Linked DNA regions of Homo sapiens: region 2 is linked to region 1. The links are contacts of gene promoters, found by promoter capture Hi-C in blood cells and fetal thymus (Javierre and others, 2016). All regions are on one chromosome and are shown on one strand. The core of a region is centred on a gene start or on the middle of the fragment in contact, and the rest is flanking DNA. Distances in the headings are between cores, read along the strand shown.

Region 1 (4,413 bases), core at 1,015-3,514:
CAGGTTGCTCAGTAGCTTGACTGCTGAGGAAGATTTTCTTTCATTCAATCATTTCAGTGAGTATACTTTTCATTTCTAGATGTTCTGTTTGGCACCTTTTCAAATACACCTGTTTTTTTTTTTCCTTTACAATTCCTGTTCTTTTTACTAGTACTTCCTATTATTTATCTTTGCCTTCATTTGAAACCTACTTCTTTCCTTTTAATTTTCTTTGAGATGGTTCTATTATCTCAAGTTCTTCCTGTTTTGCCCATTCTCTCTCATGATGGCACGTTTCTTTGAGCGGCTCATACATTTTTTATTGTGAGGATTCTTTTTTTCTTCCTCTTGGAGTCTCTGTGAGCCCTGAGTTGTAGAAATACAGCTATTGTGCAGTTTAACATTTGCTTCTGCTTGGTACCCTACGGGTCTAACTGGTTTAGCTGATCTATTTTTCCTTCAATTTCTTCACTTGGAGAAATTGTTCGATCATTTAGAAATACTTTACTGAACATGTACTATGTGCATAGTCCTATATCTGATGTTGTGGAAGATACAAAACAATGCAAGACAACACAAAGTTGCTGCTTCACATGAAACTACAGTTTGAAAGGGCCAAATACAGTATAGGCCCAAAGTTAGGTGACCATGTAAGGCAGAGTAAAAGGCTCAACGGTGAACAGCCAAGTTCAGAAAGAAAAACAGACAGTTGGAGAAAAATGGGGACGAAAAGCCCAAAGAAGGAAAAGGTTCCTGTGAGGAAGTTTCAGAAGGATGGGGAAGTAAATCATCCTCCCCTACCCCCACCCCCCACCCCCAAACTAAAACCTATCGCCTCTTCTGGGTAGAGAGTTAGTGTGGCACTAGGAACTTGACTTTGAGGTCCTTATTGAGAAAGCTAAATCAGAACCTAGGCAAAAGGAAGTCATTTAAGGTGCTCCTGGGGGATGTTTGATGAAAATTGTGTTTGATGGAGAAAACACAGCAAGTTGAAAGGGTTAGCAGGCTTTGCAAGTGATTTCACTAGGACAAGCCTGGGTTAGGGAGGCCAAGGTGAGGGAGAGAGGGAGTGTGGCATGCTTTGAACGTGGAAAGTACATAGTGTTCATTATCAGGAGTGGGAAGAGGGGAGGTAGCTTTTTAGGGGGTAAGGCAGGAAGGGAGTTAGAAAGGACAGACTGGGAAACCCGGACTAACAGTGGCAGGTGTCGATCTAAAGAAATTTCTCACAATGAACTGGCTATAGACTAAGTACAGACAAAGGGACCAGGTCTTCCATTGCTGTGTCCCTGCACACTCTAGGATCCGTTCAAACAGAAACTTTTATTGCGAACCCCCAAAACTAGCACGGTTCTGTTGTAGGTGTTGTTGCAGAGTGTCGGGCACGTTTACAAACAGGAACAGGGCACTTGCTGTCCTATCTTCCTCGCAGGGTTCTTGTGACGATTACACTTAAATCAACACGTATAAAGCATTTTAAAAAGTGCCTGTCACATAGTCCCTGCAATTTAAGGTCTAGTTGTGATTATTCACTTGTATTAACTAAGAATCAACTACAGGCGCCTAGCAGTGCCTGCATGTGCTCACACTGAGGCACTCACTAAAACCCTCAGGATCTAGTGAGGGAGACAGTCAAATACTTTAGAGCAAAACAAATTTTACAACCACGGACTCTGAGGAAGGCGTGCGAAGGCTCCACAGCTGGGGAGGGTGCCCACAGTCGCCGAGGGGACATCTGGATTTGCTCTGGTTGGGAGAGCATTCCTGGCAGAGGAGATGGAAAATGCGATCGGACAAAGAGGCTGGGACCGCGGAGGGGATCGGGCTCGGGGTCGGGGCTCGTCCTGCAGCAGGAGATTCAGCTCGCGCAGAGTTCCACGCAGGCCGCGGCGACTGGGATCTGGGCCGCAAAGGGGCGGGCAGAGAACTGCAGAGAAAACTCCCGAAGCCAGGGAGGTGGCTTGGAAGCGCCTCAGACCATATTGGGGACGTCTGGCAGCCAGAGGCGCCGAACCCCGCCCCCGCGTGCTCTGGGCATCCCGGGGGAGCGCCCCGGCCTGCGGCTGCCGCCACAGCTCCCGAGCCCGGGGCCCCGGCTGCCCGCCACCATTGACCCCCGGCCCGCAGCCCAGTGTCCTGCTAGGCCTCCAACCGGCCGGGGAGCCACATCCGGCGTGTCCCACCCGCCGCACCACGCTCCCGAGCTCCCCCGCGGCCTGGAGTGGTGCGCCCCGGCCCCGCCCCCTGACGCCGGTGAGGGGGCGTGGCCCCGTCACGTGACGGGGAGTGACCTCGCCGCCGGGCGCCATGGGAGCTTCGGACCCGGAAGTGGCGCCCTGGGCTCGCGGCGGTGCCGCGGGGATGGCGGGAGCCGGAGCTGGAGCCGGAGCTCGCGGCGGAGCGGCGGCGGGGGTCGAGGCTCGAGCTCGCGATCCACCGCCCGCGCACCGCGCACATCCTCGCCACCCTCGGCCTGCGGCTCAGCCCTCGGCCCGCAGGATGGATGGCGGGTCAGGGGGCCTGGGGTCTGGGGACAACGCCCCGACCACTGAGGCTCTTTTCGTGGCACTGGGCGCGGGCGTGACGGCGCTCAGCCATCCCCTGCTCTACGTGAAGCTGCTCATCCAGGTGGGGGACCAGAGGCGCCGTAGGGAGATGGGAGGCTGATGTGAAGGTGACAGGCCAGGATTTGGAGGATTGGGGCGGGCAGTCAATGGCGACGGATTTGGGGAGAGGGGTGGGGACGGCGGGTTTGGGGGGCCGAGTGGGTGGGATGGGAGGGAAGCCGTGAGGGAGTTGGGAACGCAGGGGTCACGGGTTTTAGGATACAGAAAGGAGACCAAGGGGTTAGAGTAATAACAGATACGGGAGAGGGTGGAAGGAACAAGCGATTTGGGGGAGTGCCAAGGAGGGAGCGATGGGCTGGAAAAACATATTTGGGAGATAAAGGAGTGGGGACGATGGACTTGGGATAGGGAAGGGAGCGAATTTGGGGCGAGGGAAGAAGCAATAGAATTGGGGGAGGGGCAAGAAGTTTGGGTGAAGAGATGGGGAGGAAGGTTGGGGGCCCAGGCAAAGTGTTTAGAGAATGAGGAGCACATAATTGGGGTAGAGGGGAACGGAGGCTCTGGATTTGATAGAGATGGATTTAAAACGTCTTGGGGTGGGGACAAAGTGGGCGCCAGGGCCAGAAATTTAGGAGGGAAAGAAGGACACCAGACTGGGGGTGGACAGAGGAGACGGAGGTCTTGGGTTGCATTGTGATTTAATTTGGTGGGAGAGTGCGAAGGCAAAGACTTTTGCAGGGGAATGCTATCGGTTTACCGGAGATGGGGGCTCTGGATTTGATGGCGACGACGGATTTGGTAGGAGGAGGGGACAGGGTGACGCGTATGGGGGGAGGGGAACAGATAGGGCCAGCATTGGGGGAGGGGAGTGGCAGCGATTTGTCTAGAGAGGGGAGCTAGGAGGAGGCTTTAAGCGGGGAAGGGGGATGACGCATTTGGAGGAGGAAATGGAAGTCATAGTTGGGGTCAGAGAGAGGAATCACAGTGCTTGTATCTGGGCAGATGAGGAGAAGGGGCACGGGAGTATTGAAATTGGGCAGAAGGGACAGTGGAGACATAGGTGGCAGGATAGGTAGGGACTACCAGAAATTGAGACCGAGGTAGGGATGTCTCTGGAACAGAGGGATGCATAGGCACTTGGCAGATTTGGTGGTGGCCAGCAATGCGGTACAGATGAAGTGTGCTGCTTGAGGAGTGAGCTGGAATGAAGGGCGTGTGGAGGTGTGAGAATTAGGTGGGTGTGGCTGGGATGGGTACAGTTTTGATGGGGGTCATTAGGCCAGAATTTTCCAGTTAAGAAGCTTGGGGGGAGGAAGGTAAAAATTGAATTGGAGACCCATCCAAGATTTGAGTTGAGGCAGGTGGGTGTCAGATTTTACCATCTTTATAATTGAACCGAGAGAATGCAAAATACAACTGGAATGAGAAGGCCTTGAGAATGAGAGTAATTGAAATCTGGGATCCGAGGAATGGTAATAGATTTGTGGGTGTGACCAGGAATATGACAAGGAATGAGGAGATTCAGTCAGGGGCATCAAGGTGCCTGACTAGACCCTAATTGTGACAGATTTGAAAATTGTTGATGGCGGAAGGTGTAGACCAGACTGGCATTTGGTTGTGATTTGGGAATGAGGGCTGTCTTACAGGGTTAAGATTGTATTTACAGCAGTTGAACTTGAAGTTTGGGAGATAAATTGGTGCTTTGGACCTGAGAAGTGAGGGTTCTGGAAACTGATGGAATGAGACTGAGTGAGGGCTAGGATTTTAGGGCACAGGTGGGAGAGTCTGTGGAGTGAAGGATACTGGAGCACAAGGGCTCAGTGTGAGGGAAATGAAGAAGTGGCTTCATCATTTGGATGATGGCAGA
Region 2 (4,413 bases), core at 907-3,406, 150 kb after region 1:
GACTAATATTTCAAAAAAAAAAAGTAAGCATGGTGTCTGGCCCAGATCTTTGAAAATAAAACGATGCTAATTATTGTTATGAACAAGGTTTCCCAAGGCCCTGTCACTGGGCCAGGCACACAGCAGATGCTCAGTAAACACTCCTGGAATGAATGGAGAACATATTCCACAAGCATGCTTTGAGCATTGTTTATGCCAGGTATGTGGGGGATGGGGAACATAGAGATTCCGAGTTCAGTTTTGCATCCTCAGGAAGGGAAGACAGAATTATTCTCCTTGGAGTGGGGCCTCCTGACCCAGCTGTGCCTGGCTGTCAGGGGAATTAACAGCCTCTGTCCCTTGCTGCCTGTTCCAGGAGGCAGAACCCAGTCCAGCTGATTCTGAGCCATGGGGAAATTGTAACAGGCAGAGGAATGTGTTCTTGTATTTATCTTTGACTGACAGTATCTGATGTTCCAGGAATTGACTTCAAACAGAATCCGGAGGAGCCCCTTATGGTCCCGCTGCCACAAACAAGGCCCAGAGAGCGCAACTCTGCCCAGCCCAGCACCAGGTTTTTGGCCTCCCCGCCGGCCCGAGGCACATCGGCTTCGATGTGCCAGGCGGTGGGCGAGGAAGTGGAGGTTCCAGCTCGGCAAAGCTTAGGCTGAGGCTGAGGATGGGCTAGAGTCAAGTCTACGTGTGCAGCCTTACTCAGGGAGACGCCTCTGCGCTGCAACCTCATGCCCGGGAGGGCAAGGCTGGGCTAGGGCGGGGGATCGCGAGGGGCTTGGCTGGGAAGAGGACTGCAGGAGAGGTGTCCCAACTCTCCCCTCGCTCGCCAGGCACACAGCACGCGCCTACTCGGTGCTGGCTGCATAGAAGCCCAGGGAGCTCGGGCCGATCTCCCAGTCTGGTTGCCACCAGACTGGGTGGCAGGAGCTTCTAGACCTGGAGGCTGGCTCAGTCGTGTGGTCACGACGGGCGGGGGAGTGGAAGGGCGCTGGCGCGTGGTTTCGGCAGCCGACTTGGCGAGGCCGCGGCTGGCGGGAACCACGGATGGGGGAGGCGCCCATGCACCGACCCCACCTGGGCCACTGGGAAACCGAGGTAGTCCCTCCTGGCACTGGGGTCGCCCCCACACACCTCCCCAGAAGGAGATGTAGGGTCTGTTTCTGAACTGAGACCCGCCCCCGAGTAGGGCGCACACTCAGCAGAGACCCTCCACACCCAAGCCCCTGGGAGGGGATCTTTTTTGCACACCTCCCTCCCACTTATGCCCCCTCTCAACCCTGCATAGACCTTTCTCAAAAAGGCGCCCGTTGGTTCCCATAACCCTCCCCCTCCCCCAGGATGGAGACCCCTGATGGGAGATAGGGGTGGTGAGAGGGGGCGGGCGCAAATGAAGATGCGCGCGACCAGGACCACCTCTTGCTGTCACCCGCCACGTCCCCAGCATCTGGACCGCGTCCCCCGGCCCGCCACGCGCGCACACACACACACACGCGCACACACACACGCTCACACTCACCCTGCGCGCAGACCCCGCCCGCGGCCCCGCCCCGGCCCCTGCGGGCGCCCCCTCTGGCGTTCCCGGGCGGCGGGAGGCTGCGGCTTCGGGCAGATTTGATTTTCCCGCAGCCCGGGCGCCCCGGAGCCGAAGCCCGAGCCGAGGAGGTGGCGCTCGCAGCCGCGTCTCAGCCCCGTCGCCGCCGGCGCCAAGACCCAGGGAGAGGCGGCGCAGCCCGGGCGCTCGGGCTCCGCGCTGCCGGCGCCCCGCCACCCCCGCCGCCAGCGCCCCATCCGGCGCCTCCCGCTCCTCACGCCCCTCTCCCTGTCTTCTGCATCCCCTCTACCTCTGCCCACAGACGCGCGTCCCTCTCCTGGTGCCCCTCTCCACGACTCCGCGTTTCCCTCCCGGTGCCCTCTCCCCGAGCCCCTCTCCCCGCGCCCCTCTCTGCCTTCCCCGCTGTGCCCCCGCTCCCTGGGCTCCTTGCCCTTCCCCACTGGGCCCCTAGCCTCCTCGCGGCGTCACCCGAGCCCCCTCCTCGATCCGCGGCCCCCGCTCCCTCCGCCCTCTTCCCTCTCTCACTTCCCACGCCCCCTCTTCGCGCTCCTCTCTCCTCCCCTTGCCGCCCAGCCCAGGCTCTGGAGTTGGGGGAGAGCCCAGGGCTCCAGTCGCTCCGGAGGAGGCGTGAATCGCGCAGGGATTGACTAATTTGGGGTGGGGGGTGCGGTGGGCGATGGAGCAGCCTGAGGACATGGCGTCGCTGAGCGAGTTCGACTCCTTGGCGGGCAGCATCCCGGCCACCAAGGTGGAGATCACCGTGTCCTGCAGGTGAGCCTCCCGCTGGCCGGGTCCCCTTGCCCCGGCCCTGGACGCAGAGCCCCGCGGCCCCTGCCGCTTCGATCCTAAACCTCCGCGCGCCCCCTTCCCAGAGTGTCCTGGTCTCCAGGACTGCGCCCCTGCCGATCTGCCAAGAGCCCCTGTCCTGTCCAGCTGCGGGTGGCGACGGCAGAATAGGAAGCCAGGCTGGGGTCATATCCCAGAAAGTTTGCGCTCCAGGCTGTTGCATCGAGGAGATATGAAGACACAGGAACAGGGGGTCCAGGCACCCAAGTGGGGAGAGGGAGTTGGTAAAAGGCTGTACTACGGTCTCTGCTCAGGCTATCTCTGATCACCCCATCCCCAAATCACGAAGTGAGTGATTTGCCCCCATCCCTCCCAGGCTCGTCCACCCTCTCCCTTCTGTGCCCTCCTCTCTTCTCTCTTTGCCCCTTCTTTGCCCCAGCATCCTGATCCTCCCCTCACCAGTCTCCCCCACCCCACTGTCCTAGACTCTAGGATTTTAAAGCCTTCCTTCATCTCTATCAACAACGAAATCGACTCCTGGAAAAGGATCAGATTGACTCATTCATACTAAGGTGTGGATACATGATAACAACTTAAAGTGGCACCATTAAAAAAATAACTTGGGTCAAAAATCTTAAGCCAAAGGAATAGAACACTGATTGTGAAACTGTAGAGTCCAACAGAGGAGGAGGGGGAATATTTTTGTGGGCTACCACGCCCAAATCTTCACTCATGTCACACAGGGTTTGGGGGTAACTTCTCTGTCTAAGAGCTGGGTCGACCCCAGGTTCTCCTAGCTAGGGGAAGGCTGCCCCTGGCAGTAAGAGGGTATGGGTGGCAAAGGGGGATTTTTCCCTAGTTCAGTCTCTCTGTGGCTGGCCTAGGATCATGTGCTGCCACGCAAGCATCACCCACTTTGAGGTTCCCCCACAGAGGCCATGCCCCCTGCCCCAGATCACCGACAGCATTTCTGGAGCCCTGGCTGTGCCCTTGTTCGAAATCACCCATCTCATCCTCTTCCAGGTTGCTCCTTGGTCAGACCCTCCATGAGAGGTAACCTTGTTGCCCCCCAGTCCTGTATTACAAAGTTGTGGCATTGATGAGGTGTAGGTAGAGCTGGAGAGTCTGGGCAGGGGCGTGAAGGAGGGAAGGACTCAGTGTGACTTTCTCTTGAAGACTTGGGGATAAGTGGCAGTGAAGGCTAGTCTGGTTGAACGTAGCTTCCCCCCTAAGCCAGGCCCTCTGGGGGCTCCTGTGATAGCTCCCAGGTCCCATACACCATGCCGTCAGGATCATCTCCCAACGCCATTTGCATCTTGTCATTACTCTGCTGGGAGATTCCTGATGGCCCATTAGCTCCAGTCTCACCTCCTCAGCCATCAAAAGCAGCACGGCCTCCCCACCCTTCTCCTGCACGCACATCCCTGCGCCTGGCACTCCCTCCCAGCCTTCAATCATGCCTGTCATCTTCAGTTGTCTTGGGATCCTTCCCACCTCCAAGCCTCTGAACAGCCCATTCCCCATCCAGATTTCACTCTTCCTTTATCTCCCCAAGTTCATGATCCCCCCACTCCTGAAAAGCCTGGCCTCACGCTCCCCACTTTCAGGCATCCTCTCACCCATGAGACACACAGCTCAAATCATTGTCTTCTGTGTCCCGTGGGCCCTAGGTACTCAGCCTGGGCCACAGGGTCACTCACATACTGAGGATGAAACCTCTTGAGACGTCTCAGGTGTGCAGACGTCATCCCTCCCCTCTCAAAGCAACTGTGTAAGCATTTGAGGGCAGGGATTCCCACCCTGAGTCAGACCCATGCACCCTCTACTCCAGTGGAGAGGAAAGGAGATGGAGGGCAGATAGTGTGGCTTTGGAGTCAGATACCTTGAAACAGAATCTCTGCTTCACCACTTGGGGCAAATTTTAAGCCTCAGTTTCCCCCACCTGTCAGGTACAAACAATAAGCAGCATGTACTCATGGAGAAACCTTGTTCACCAAGGTAGCTCATGTGCTTAGAGCAGTGCCTGGCACTTGCCAAATACTGTTGGAGGAATTAACTTGCAGGAGTGGAGGAGCATGAAG

Evidence for each region. The method cuts DNA at HindIII sites, captures the fragments that hold promoters and counts their contacts. A CHiCAGO score of 5 or more calls a contact.
Region 2: the fragment with the promoter of CPNE5 here is called in contact with the fragment with the promoter of MTCH1 in region 1 in 15 of 17 cell types (activated CD4 T cells, fetal thymus, monocytes and 12 more); the score reaches 10.8 in activated CD4 T cells.

What each region holds. Positions count from the first base shown.
Region 1 is chr6:36,984,047-36,988,459 of GRCh38, reverse strand. It overlaps MTCH1 (mitochondrial carrier 1), which reads left to right and starts at 2,264. Exons shown (of 12, transcript NM_001271641.2): 1 at 2,264-2,607. The coding sequence starts at 2,287. RefSeq lists enhancers at 1,660-1,869, 1,988-2,710 and a silencer at 1,960-2,549. The HindIII fragment of the contact is 16,171 bases long and covers 1-3,849 here.
Region 2 is chr6:36,837,187-36,841,599 of GRCh38, reverse strand. CPNE5 (copine 5) reads left to right here and starts at 2,156. Exons shown (of 21, transcript NM_020939.2): 1 at 2,156-2,317. The coding sequence starts at 2,223. RefSeq lists an enhancer at 248-798 and a silencer at 1,483-1,692. The HindIII fragment of the contact is 11,867 bases long and covers 643-4,413 here.